2 separate regions of the Homo sapiens genome follow, and region 2 is linked to region 1. The links are contacts of gene promoters, found by promoter capture Hi-C in human tissues and cell types (Jung and others, 2019). All regions are on one chromosome and are shown on one strand. The core of a region is centred on a gene start or on the middle of the fragment in contact, and the rest is flanking DNA. Distances in the headings are between cores, read along the strand shown.

What was found. Contacts are between HindIII fragments. The study calls those that stand out against the background at their distance.
Region 2: a contact is called between a fragment that was not itself captured here and the fragment with the promoter of SPINK8 in region 1, in 1 of the 25 tissues and cell types used here (IMR-90 fibroblasts).

What each region holds. Positions count from the first base shown.
Region 1 is chr3:48,331,468-48,336,699 of GRCh38, reverse strand. It overlaps SPINK8 (serine peptidase inhibitor Kazal type 8 (putative)), which reads left to right and starts at 3,039. Exons shown (of 8, transcript NM_001080525.3): 1 at 3,039-3,165; 2 at 4,229-4,334. RefSeq lists a silencer at 2,494-2,694. The HindIII fragment of the contact is 10,965 bases long and covers 702-5,232 here.
Region 2 is chr3:48,394,947-48,400,178 of GRCh38, reverse strand. No RefSeq gene overlaps it. Among named protein-coding and RNA genes, the nearest start is that of FBXW12, 25 kb to the right of the region's middle. The HindIII fragment of the contact is 3,860 bases long and covers 1,150-5,009 here.

The sequences.
Region 1 (5,232 bases), core at 1,790-4,289:
ACATCAAATAACTATCAAATTTTATAGTATACCTATGTTTTGATTGACATGTACTACTAACTGTGATAATAACTCAGTTCAAGAGAAACAGATTAAAACTTTATATCCTATGATCCCAGGAACTTTGAAAAATCCATTTATTTGCATATTTCTGATGATGAAAAGTAGAAAAGCATGATCAGTAACTCACCATCAAGCATAACATTGAAATAAAAGTTACATGGAGAAAGCAGAATGAAACGTTCATTCAAGGAGAAAAAGAAATGACATACAATTTCTAACTGAGTTCATCCATGTGGCTTTCAAATATACAATGTAAAATCAAATTGCCATAGAATGTAAATTCCATGGGTTATGTCTAAGATAATGATTTTTATTTTAAAATAGTAATATTTAAACTAGGCCAGTAATTGAGTTATTTGTAACTATTTAAACTTTTTTTTTAAGACAGTTTTGCAGGCAACCCCCTTTGGGTCCCCTCCTTTGTATGGGAGCTCTGTTTTCACTCTATTAAATCTTGCAACTGCACACTCTTCTGTTCCATGTTTGTTCCGGCTCGAGCTGAGCTTTCACTCACTCTCCACCACTGCTGAAAGCCAACGTCGCTGACCCACCATTGGCTTCCACACCTCCGGATTGGGCAGGGTGGCTGCTATGCTTCTGATCCAGCGAGGTGCCCATTGCCACTCCCAATCAGGCTAGAGGCTCGCCATTGTCCCTGCATGGCTAAGTGCCTGGGTTCATCCTAATCGAGCTAAACACTAGTCGCTGGGTTCCAGGGTTCTCTTCCGTGACCGACGGCTTCTAATAGAGCTATAACACTCACTGCATGTCCCAAGTTTCCATTCCTTGGAATCCGTGAGGCCAAGAACCCCAGGTCAGAGAACAAAAGGCTTGCCGCCATCTTGGGAGCGGCCTGCCACCATCTCAGGAGCTCTAAGAACAAAGACCTGCCTGGTAACAGCTGTTGGCCCGTACAGGTATTCTCCAAAGTGGTGAGTAATATTGAACCACTTTAGCTTGCTATCCTGTCCTATCCTTCCTTAGAATCAGAGGAAATACCGGGCACCTGTCAGCCAGTTAAAAATGATTAGCATGGCCACTGGACTTAAGACTCAGCTGTGAGGCTTTCTGGGAAAAGGCTTTCTAACAACCCCCAACCCTTTGGGGTTAGGAGCGTTGGTCTGCCTGGAACCAGCTTCCGCTTTCACAATTTCCTGGGGGGAAGCCGAGGGCCGACTAGAGGCAGAAAGCTGTCGTCCTGAACTCCCGGCATTGGCTGGTTGAGATCATGGTGCAGCCAGAAGTCTCTACTCAACAGTTGCCCACGTGTGCACCCCTACCTTTCCTTCTGACCCATACCTCCTGGGTCCCGACCATGACTTTCTTGAAAGTGTAGCCCCAAAAATTCTCCTTACCTCTGAATCTACTTCCTCCAATCCCTGCCTCCTAGGTACTAATGCTTCAGACTTTCATTTCCTCTCCCAAGTATTAGAGCAAGTTGTATCTCCAAAGAGATCTAAGGAAGCTCTATGCTGTGGCCTTAGATATCTAGGCTATGAACCCAGGGAGTCTTGCCCCTGGTGTCCCTCCCAATTTAGGTATATAGCTGTCAACATGGGCTGTTATGTGGGACCCATTCCCCACCACCCTTGCCAGGGCCCCAAGTTTGTAAATAGCTAGGAAGATCGCTCTCCCATTGTGTAAGATGCTCTCCTCCCCTAATTTCTACCCAGTTTACTACCCCCTGCAATACAATCTCCAAGCCTTGGCTCCTTGGCCAGGCCCTTAGAACTGATAACCCAGTATTTTAACAACTGGAACTGAGTCTACAACAACATAATAGATCAGGATGAAAACGAATTTGAGTAAATTAAAGGGAGGCACATGTTCCTATAGTGGCAAACTGGGGCAACAAGTGAACGTCCTTCCACTGCGTTTCCAAAATCCATCTAAAAAAAGACAGACAGAGAGAGGAAGAGGCAGAAAGTCAAAGAGAGAAAGAAAGAAAAAAGGGAAAGAGAGAGGTAGTAAAGAAAAAACAGTGTACCCTATTCCTTTAAAAGCCAAGGTAAATTTAGAACCTATAATTGATAATTAAAGGTCTTCTCCACGACCCTATAATACTCCAATACTACCTTGTTGTCAGTGTAAACAAGGGCGTAGCCCGAAAACACTGAGACCACTGACAACCCATAGCCTTCCTATCAAAAATCCTGAACCCAGTAACCCGTGGATGGCCCAAATGCATTCAATCTGTAGTGGCAACTGCTTTGCTAACAGAATAAAGTAGAAAAATAACCTTTAGAGGAAACCTCATTGTGAGCACACCTCACCAGTTCAGAACAATCCTAAGACCAAAAAAAAAAAAAAAAAAAGGTAGCTTACTAGCTCAAAATTCTTAAAGTATGGGGCTATTCTGTTAGAAAAAGGTGATTTAACACCAACCACTGATAATTCCCTTAACCCAGCAGATTTCCTAACAGGGGATTTAAATCTTAATTGCCATGCAAAGGTCCAACCAGACCTAGGAGGAACTTCCTTTAGGATAGGACGATAGATGGTTCCTCCCAGGCGATTGAGGAAAAAACCACAATGGGTATTCAGTAATTGATAAGGAAACTCTTGTGGAAGCAGAGTTAGGAGAATTGCCTCATAATTGGTCTGCACAAACTGCGAGCTGTTTGCACTCAGCCAAGCCTTAAAGTACTTACAAAAAGAGCAAGCCCATCTTTTTCTCCTCGCTCTCCTTCTCGTAGGAAAAAGGCACATAGGATAAACAGGAGCCATCTCTCATATTTCGTACCCAAAAGGACTTAATCCAGGGCAACAAAATCTTAAGTTCGATAATTAAGGCATATTCCTACAAAGGAAAAGGACAAAGGCCCTAGTGGGCAAAAACTCTATCTCAATCCTGACTCAAAAGGTTACCTACACCCTCTCTGAAACGAATTTGCATAAGAACTGTTGTTTATGAAAATGCATCTTGATGGGGCAACTGGGTTGTTATGAAATACTCAGAAACCCAGCCCAGCTCTAGAACTCACTCCTGAGTGCAAAGGCAATGTCAGGCACGCTGGTAAAGGACCACTAGAATCCAGCAGCCCAGACCCCTTTCTTTGTGGTCAAGAAGGGCAGGAAAACAGGTGCAGGACTGCTACATCGGTGAGTGTAACTAATCTGATAAGCAGAGGTCCGTGGGTGGTTACGCACCCTGAAAAGGAATAAGCATTAGGACCACAGAGGACGCTCTAGGACTAATGCTCATCAGAAAATGACTAGGGGTGCTGGCATCCCTATGTTCTTTTTAAACGTTCCCCCCTCCCAGGCAAAAACGCCCCTAAGATGTATTCTAGAGAATTAGGACCAATTTGACCCTCAGATGCTAAGAAAGAAACGACTTATATTCTTCTGCAGTACCCCTGGCCACAATATCCTCTTCAAGAGGGAGAAACATGCCCTCCAAGGGAAGTATAAATTATAACACCATCTTACAGCTAGACTTCTTTTGTAGAAAATAGGGCAAATGGAGCGAAGTGCCATATGTGCAAACTTTCTTTTCATTAAGAGACAACTCACAATTATGTTAAAAGTGTGATTTATGCCCTACAGGAAGCCCTCAGAATCTACCCCCCTGCCCCGGCGTTCCCCCGGCTCCTTCCCCAACTAATAATGACCCCCCTTCAACACAAACGGTGCCAAAGGAGATAGAGAAAGGGGTAAACAATGAACCAAAGAGTGCCAATATTCCCAGATTATGCCCCCTTGAAGTGGTGGGAGGAGGAGAATTCAGCCCAGAGTGTGTGTACCTTTTTCCCTCTCAGACTTGAAGCAAATTAAAATAGACCTAGGTAAATTCTCAAATAACCCTGATGGCTATATTGATGTTTTACAAGGGTTAGGACAATCCTTTGATCTGACATGGAGAGACATAATGTTACTGCTAGATCAGATACTAACCCCAAATGAGAGAAGTGCCGCTATAACTGCAGCCCAAGAGTTTGGCAATCTCTGGTATCTCAGTCAGGTCAATGATAGGATGACAACAGAGGAAAGAGAACGATTCCCCACAGGCCAGCAGGCAGTTCCCAGTGTAGACCCTCAATGGGACGCAGAATCAGAATGTGGAGATTGGTGCCGCAGACATTTGCTAACTTGCATGCTAGAAGGACTAAGAAAAACTAGGAAGAAGCCTATGAATTATTCAATGATGCCCACTATAACACAGGGAAAGGAAGAAAATCCTACTGCCTTTCTGGAGAGACTAAGGGAGGCATTGAGGAAGCATACCTCTCTGTCATCTGGATCTATTGAAGGCCAACTAATCTTAAAGGGTAAGTTTATCACTCAGCTGCAGACATTAGAAAAAAACTTCAAAATCCGCCTTAGGCCTGGAACAAAACTTAAACTAAGAACTTGGCCTCAGTTTTTATAATAGAGATCAGAAGGAGCAGGCAGAACTGGACAAACGGGATAAAAAGAAGGCCACCGCTTTAGTCATGGCCTTCAGGCAAGTGGACTTTGGAGGCTCTGGAAAAGTGAAAGGCTGGGCAAATCGAATGCCTAATAGGGATTTGATTCCAGTGCGGTCTACAAGGACACTTTAAAAAAGATTGTCCGAATAGAAATAAGCCACCCCCTCATCCATGCCCCTTATTTCAAGGGTATCACTGGAAGGCCCACTGCCCCAGGGGATGAAGGTCCTCTGAGTCAGAAGCCACTAACCAGATGATCCAGCAGCAGGACTGAGGGTGCCTGGGGCAAGCGCCAGCCCCTGGCATCACCCTCCCCAGGTATGCTTGACCACTGAGGGCCAGGAGGTTAACTGTCTGCTGGACACTAGCGCGGCCTTCTCAGTCTTACTCTCCTGTCCCAGACAACTGTCCTCCAGATCTGTCACTATCCGAGGGGTCCTAGGACAGGCAGTCACTAGATACTTCTCCCAGACACTAAGTTGTGACTAGGGAACTTTACCATTTTCACATACCTTTCTAATTATGCCTGAAAGCCCCATTCCCTTGTTAGGGAGAGACATTCTAGCAAAAACAGGGGCCATTATACACTAGAATTAGGAGAAGAAAAAAAGGTAAATATCTATACAGACTCTAAGTATGCTTACCTAGTCCTCCATGCCCACGCAGCAATATGGAGAGAAAGAGAATTCCTAACTTCTGAGGGAACACCTATCAAATATCAGGAAGCCATTAGAAGATTATCATTGGCTGTACAGAA
Region 2 (5,232 bases), core at 1,830-4,329, 63 kb before region 1:
AGTAGTTATCCAGCGGTGAGTGACTATAGAAGCCTCTGTCACCTATAAGCTGGCAAAGGGGGCAGCAGTGTTACCCACAGCCTCTGACTGCTGAGTCAGTGGCGCCCGTGGGAAGCCAGGAGCTGCATGCTGGCTGACGCTGCAGGTGCCTGGGAACCTGCTAACCTGGCCCCTCCACCCATGCTGGTGAGTTGGTGCTGCTGGGGCACCTGCTGCCCTAGTGAATGGGTGCCACCAGGAAGAGAGGATTCAAGCCTGTCTTGCTCAAGACCTCCTCCACCACCAGACTTGCCTCAAGATCTCAGGCCCAAGAAGCCCCAGGGAGTGGAGTGACAGGAGCCTTGCTCTGGGAGGCAGGAGACCTGGATTCTAGTTCCTCCTCCTCTCACTGACTGGGCCTCTGGAGAGAAGGGCAGGGACATTCTGGCATGTGGCAGGAGCCACTCTGTGTCATGGGGTTGGATCCCAAGCTGGCACCTGGCAGGATTTAATGAAGAAACATTTATCAAGTGCTGGATCAGTCCAGCTCCTGGCAGGAAACTGACAGCATGTACCAGGAAAGATGCAGCTGGAAGAGAGTTTAATGAGGGGACTACTTACAGAGCTGCAGGCTCTGGGAAGCCAATAAGGGATGGTGAAGCACAGCTGTTACCAGTCCTGGGCTCTAGGGGTAGGGACAGAGTAGTCATCAGGACCAGTGGGGCTGTGGCTAAAGGTGGAAGCTTCAGAGGGAGGATGCTGGGGGAATAATTACCCTGGCCTCTTGTTCCTCCCCACTGCCCAGACTCCTGCCAGCCCGTCCCGTTGGCCAAGCCACCTGAAAGCCAGAGGGCAGGGGAGCCTGAATGGCAGGGCAGCCTCTGGACTGCTGAGTGGTGAAGAAGTGGGCAGAAAACTGCCTCTGGCCTGAGGACCTGCTGTCCTGGGAGGCACCTAGCAGGTGCTTTGTCATTCAAGGCCACAAGGTCACGGCCATAGCAGTACTTGGTTTCCAGCCCCCTGGCTTGCAGAATTTTCCACCGCACTCCATGCCCTAGTGCTCCTTGGGCGGTGCTGCACTGTCCACCTGAAGGACCTTGGAAACACCAAATTTTGGGGGCTGACTGGGCCTCTTCACCTTATCTCCAGGTTGGGTGGGATGCTGGGTGTGCAAATAGGGACCCAAGGAAGACTCCACACTACAGGCTGTGTCTACAGCTTCATCTCAGGGCAGAAGTCAGCAGGGCCAGGCACAGACCCATCCGGAGCTGGGGGAGGGGCAGGACGCCTGGTTCTCTACACCCAAAGAAATGTGTGTGGGGCACTCCCAAGCCCCCACGCAGAGACAAACCCTCGCGCCTGCGCCCAGCCCAGGTTGCTGACTGGAGTGGAGGCAGCAGAACTCTGTGTGTGTGTGTGTCTGTGTGTTTGATGTATATGTTTGAAGTGTGTGTGTAGCATTGGGGACAGGCAGAGGCTCTGCTCAATGGGGAATGATGTTCTGGTGGAACACCCCATGGACTTGGAGCTTGAGAAGTGGGCTTTGGCCAGGCCCTGGCACTGACCACCTAGGAACAGTCATCTTTTCCAAGCTTCTGGTTCCTCTTCTGTAAGGTGTGAGTCCCTAACCACCTTTCCAAAGACAGCATCCTGTGCAAGCTGTCACGGGAGGGGGAAGGGCCCTGGTGACCCTCAGGGCCTCTAGAGCCTGTGGGCAAGAGCTGGCCCTCCATGCCAAGGTGCCAGGCCTAACCCTGGTGAAGAGTGACCCAACTGGGCGACTGCCTGAGGCCTCAGAGGAGGACAAGGAGAAGGTGCACAGCAGCAGGGTGCACACCTTGCCCTGGCCTCTCCTAGGGTAGAGGACGGTGTGAGCCCCCAGAGGCTGTCATCCAGCCTGAGAGGTTTCTTGGCTCTTCCTCCCATGCCCAGGGTTCTCCCAGACTGCAGAGCAAGATCCAGGCTCCACACAATGCCAGAGGCCCTGCCTCTATCTTCTCTCTGGCCAGCGGCCCTATCGCTAACCCCACACATGAAGGATACTGCTTTGGCATCATCGTTTGTGAGGGCCAGGCTGGGGAAGGGTGGAGAGAGTGTCCTTCCCTGGGGAGGCTGAACCCAGGGAGATGGAGTGACATGCCCCAAAAACACAGCAAGTGGGACTAGAACCCATGTCTCCAGATGGAACCCCAGGCTCCCACTGCTCCATGCTGTGCAGGTTACACCTCCCACCCTGCCGCTCTCTCCGGGGGCCTCAGTCCACCTCCTGAGCCCATGTCCTCAGTCCATGATTGGACCGGGTCCCTGGGTCCCTTGGAGGACCAGCCAAGCCCAGGTCCTTCTTTGCTTCTTACTCCCCACCCCAGTCTCCTTGTTCTTCAGTCTTTTGCTTTCCCACTGGCTCCCTTCTCACACCTCCCATGGCTGTGCCCATTTCTCCTTTTAACTCTGTCAACTTTTGGATCCTATATTTGAAGCAAGGCATGCATATATATTTTAAATTTTATTATCTCTGTTTTGATCTTTTTGTCATAAAAAATTCGTTTTTATTTCTAATAATACTTCCTGCCTTAAAGTCTACATTTCCTGTTTGAATGATGTTCAGTGTCCATTGTGTAAATTCTCATGTGGTAATTTCCTTTAAGAAATTATTGAGGGGCCAGGCACAGTGGCACATGCCTGTAATCCCAGCACTTTGAGAGGCTGTGGTGGGATAATTTCTTGAGCCCAGGAGTTCGAGACCAGCCTGGGAAGCATGGCAAAACCCTGTCTCTACAAAAAAAAAAACAAAAATTAGCCAGGGGTGTTGGTGCATACCTGTAATCCCAGTTACTCAGGAGGCTGAGGTGGGAGGATCACATGAGCCTGGGAGGTTGAGGCTGCAGTGAGTCAAGATTGCACCACTGCACTCCAGCTTGGGTGACAGAGTGAGACCCTGTCTCGAAGAAAAAGAAATTATTGAGGGCAGGGTGGTGGCACACGCCTGTAATCCCAGCACTTTGGGAGGCTGAGGCAGGAGGATTGCTTGAGCTCAGGAGGTTGAAGCTACAATGAGATGTGTTTGCACCACTGCACTCCAGCTTGGGTGACAGAGTGAGACCCTGTCTCAAGAAAAAAAGGAGAAGCTACTGAATTGCAGTAAAACCGTGTGCTTCTATGAGGGGATAAAGTATTTACTTGTGGCTGGGCACGGTGGCTCACGCCTGTAATCCCAACACTTCGGGAGGCCGAGGCGGGAGGATCACCTGAGGTCAGGAGTTCGAGACCAGCCTCAACATGGAGAAACCCCGTCTCTACTAAAAATACAATTAGCCAGGCGTGGTGGTGCATGCCTGTAATCCCAGCTACTCGGGAGGCTGAGGCAGGAGAATTGCTTGAACCCAGGAGGCGGAGGTTGCGGTGAGCCAAGATCGTGCCATTGCACTCCAGCCTGGGCAACAAGAGCGAAACTCCATCTCAAAAAAAAAAAAAAAAGCACTTACTCGTAACCCAGGAAAATATATTAGTTTCCAGATTAACATATTTTGCTGCTTTTCAAATTATGGTTTCTAAATATTTCATTTTTTTCTCCTTTTTAAGTTTATGCCAAAATAATCTGAGGTATTGCTAATCTTTCAAATGTGAGATTTCCAACAATCACAAAGGAAAATATTAATTCTCCTGAAAGCAGCATTTTGGTAATGGTATTATATAAACTTATTTGAATTATTTTATCTCCCTTTTTTTCTGATACAGAGTTTCGCTCTTGTGGCCCAGGCTGGAGTGCGATGGCGCAATCTCAGGTCACTGCAGTCTCCGCCTTCTGGGTTCAAGCGATTCTCCTGCCTCAACCTCCCGAGTAGCTGGGATTACAGGCGCCTGCCACCATGCCCGGCTAATTTTGGTATTTTTAGTAGATACTGGGTTTCACCATGTTGGCCAGGCTGGCCTTGAACTCCTGATTTCAGGTGATACGCCAACCTCGGTCTCTCAAAGTGCTGGGATTACAGGCATGAGCCACCACACCTGGCCTCTTATTGAGTTTTGAGAGCTCTTTATATATTTGGGATACAGATCTGTAGGGGTTTGAGGGATCTGGGAGCTGATCAAAGAAAAAGATGCGACCATGGGAGGCAGCAAACTTTACTGAGTGGGGCTTGAGTAGGGTTGTGTGAGAGGGAAGTTCCTCATAGCATGAGACTGTCTAGAGGCTTGAGGTGCAGGAGCCACCATCCAGAAGGGGAGGAGAGCAAGGGAACACTTGGAGAGGAGATGGGAGTGGGGACCTTTGTGTCTAGGTGATGTTGCTCAGCAGCAGGGGCGTGGGAGCAGATGGGAATCTTTGGGTCAGAGAGCTCTGAATGGCTGTAGCAGCCTAGGCTGTTATAACCAGAAGGCACTATCTTACCAAAGGGCAATAGCCGTCAGATGAGGTCTGTGGGGAGGGATGGGATGGGAGAGCCACAGACTGGAGAGCCAATTCATCTACTTAAAAAGAAAAAAACTGTGCCCCAAATTATAATAGTTCCTTTATTAAACCTTCCTCAAATTACCTTAATTTGTATGTGTCATCTTTATCATCCTGGGACCTTGACTGATATAAACCCCAAATGTGACTTTGGTTATGGTTAGGAATTCTCTGAAGATAATTGTTTCTCTGTCTTGATTTCACCCATCTCTGAAGCTGAGGGAGGTAGCTGTTCATCCTTCTCTAACGAATAGATTTTCCCTCAGTTTACCTACAAGGAGTATTACTTTTCTGAGGGTCCCGGATCTTGTAGATTTCTGATCTCACCACCAATTTGGTGGAGGCCTGTATTTCATCATGTAGCCTTTGGAATTCTATGAAATAAGACATTAACTTCAGCATTTGTTGAATTTTCTGGATTTTTTTCATTCTCCAATTTTGGAAGTTTCTATTCTATTCCAGCCATCTAACCATGGATTTTTTTAGTTTTGCTTTGTGTTTGCAGTTTTGAACAATGCTGAGGTGCTATGCATTTCCACCATGTTTCTGGAAAATGAAAACCCAACAGCAATTCAATTTTACCCCCTTTTTAACCTAAGTTATCTGGGAATTGCAGATCCTTGTGGGATCCTCTACTTATTCCTGTTCCCTTTGGCAAGTGACATTCTTTGTACATGATTCTACACATTTCTCTCCCTCTGTCTTATCTTCTACTTTGGTCTCCACTGCCCATGTATTACCTTATAGACTCTGTTCTCTTATAATCAAGAAAATGGCTTAACCAGATCTCTTCAGCCATGTCATAT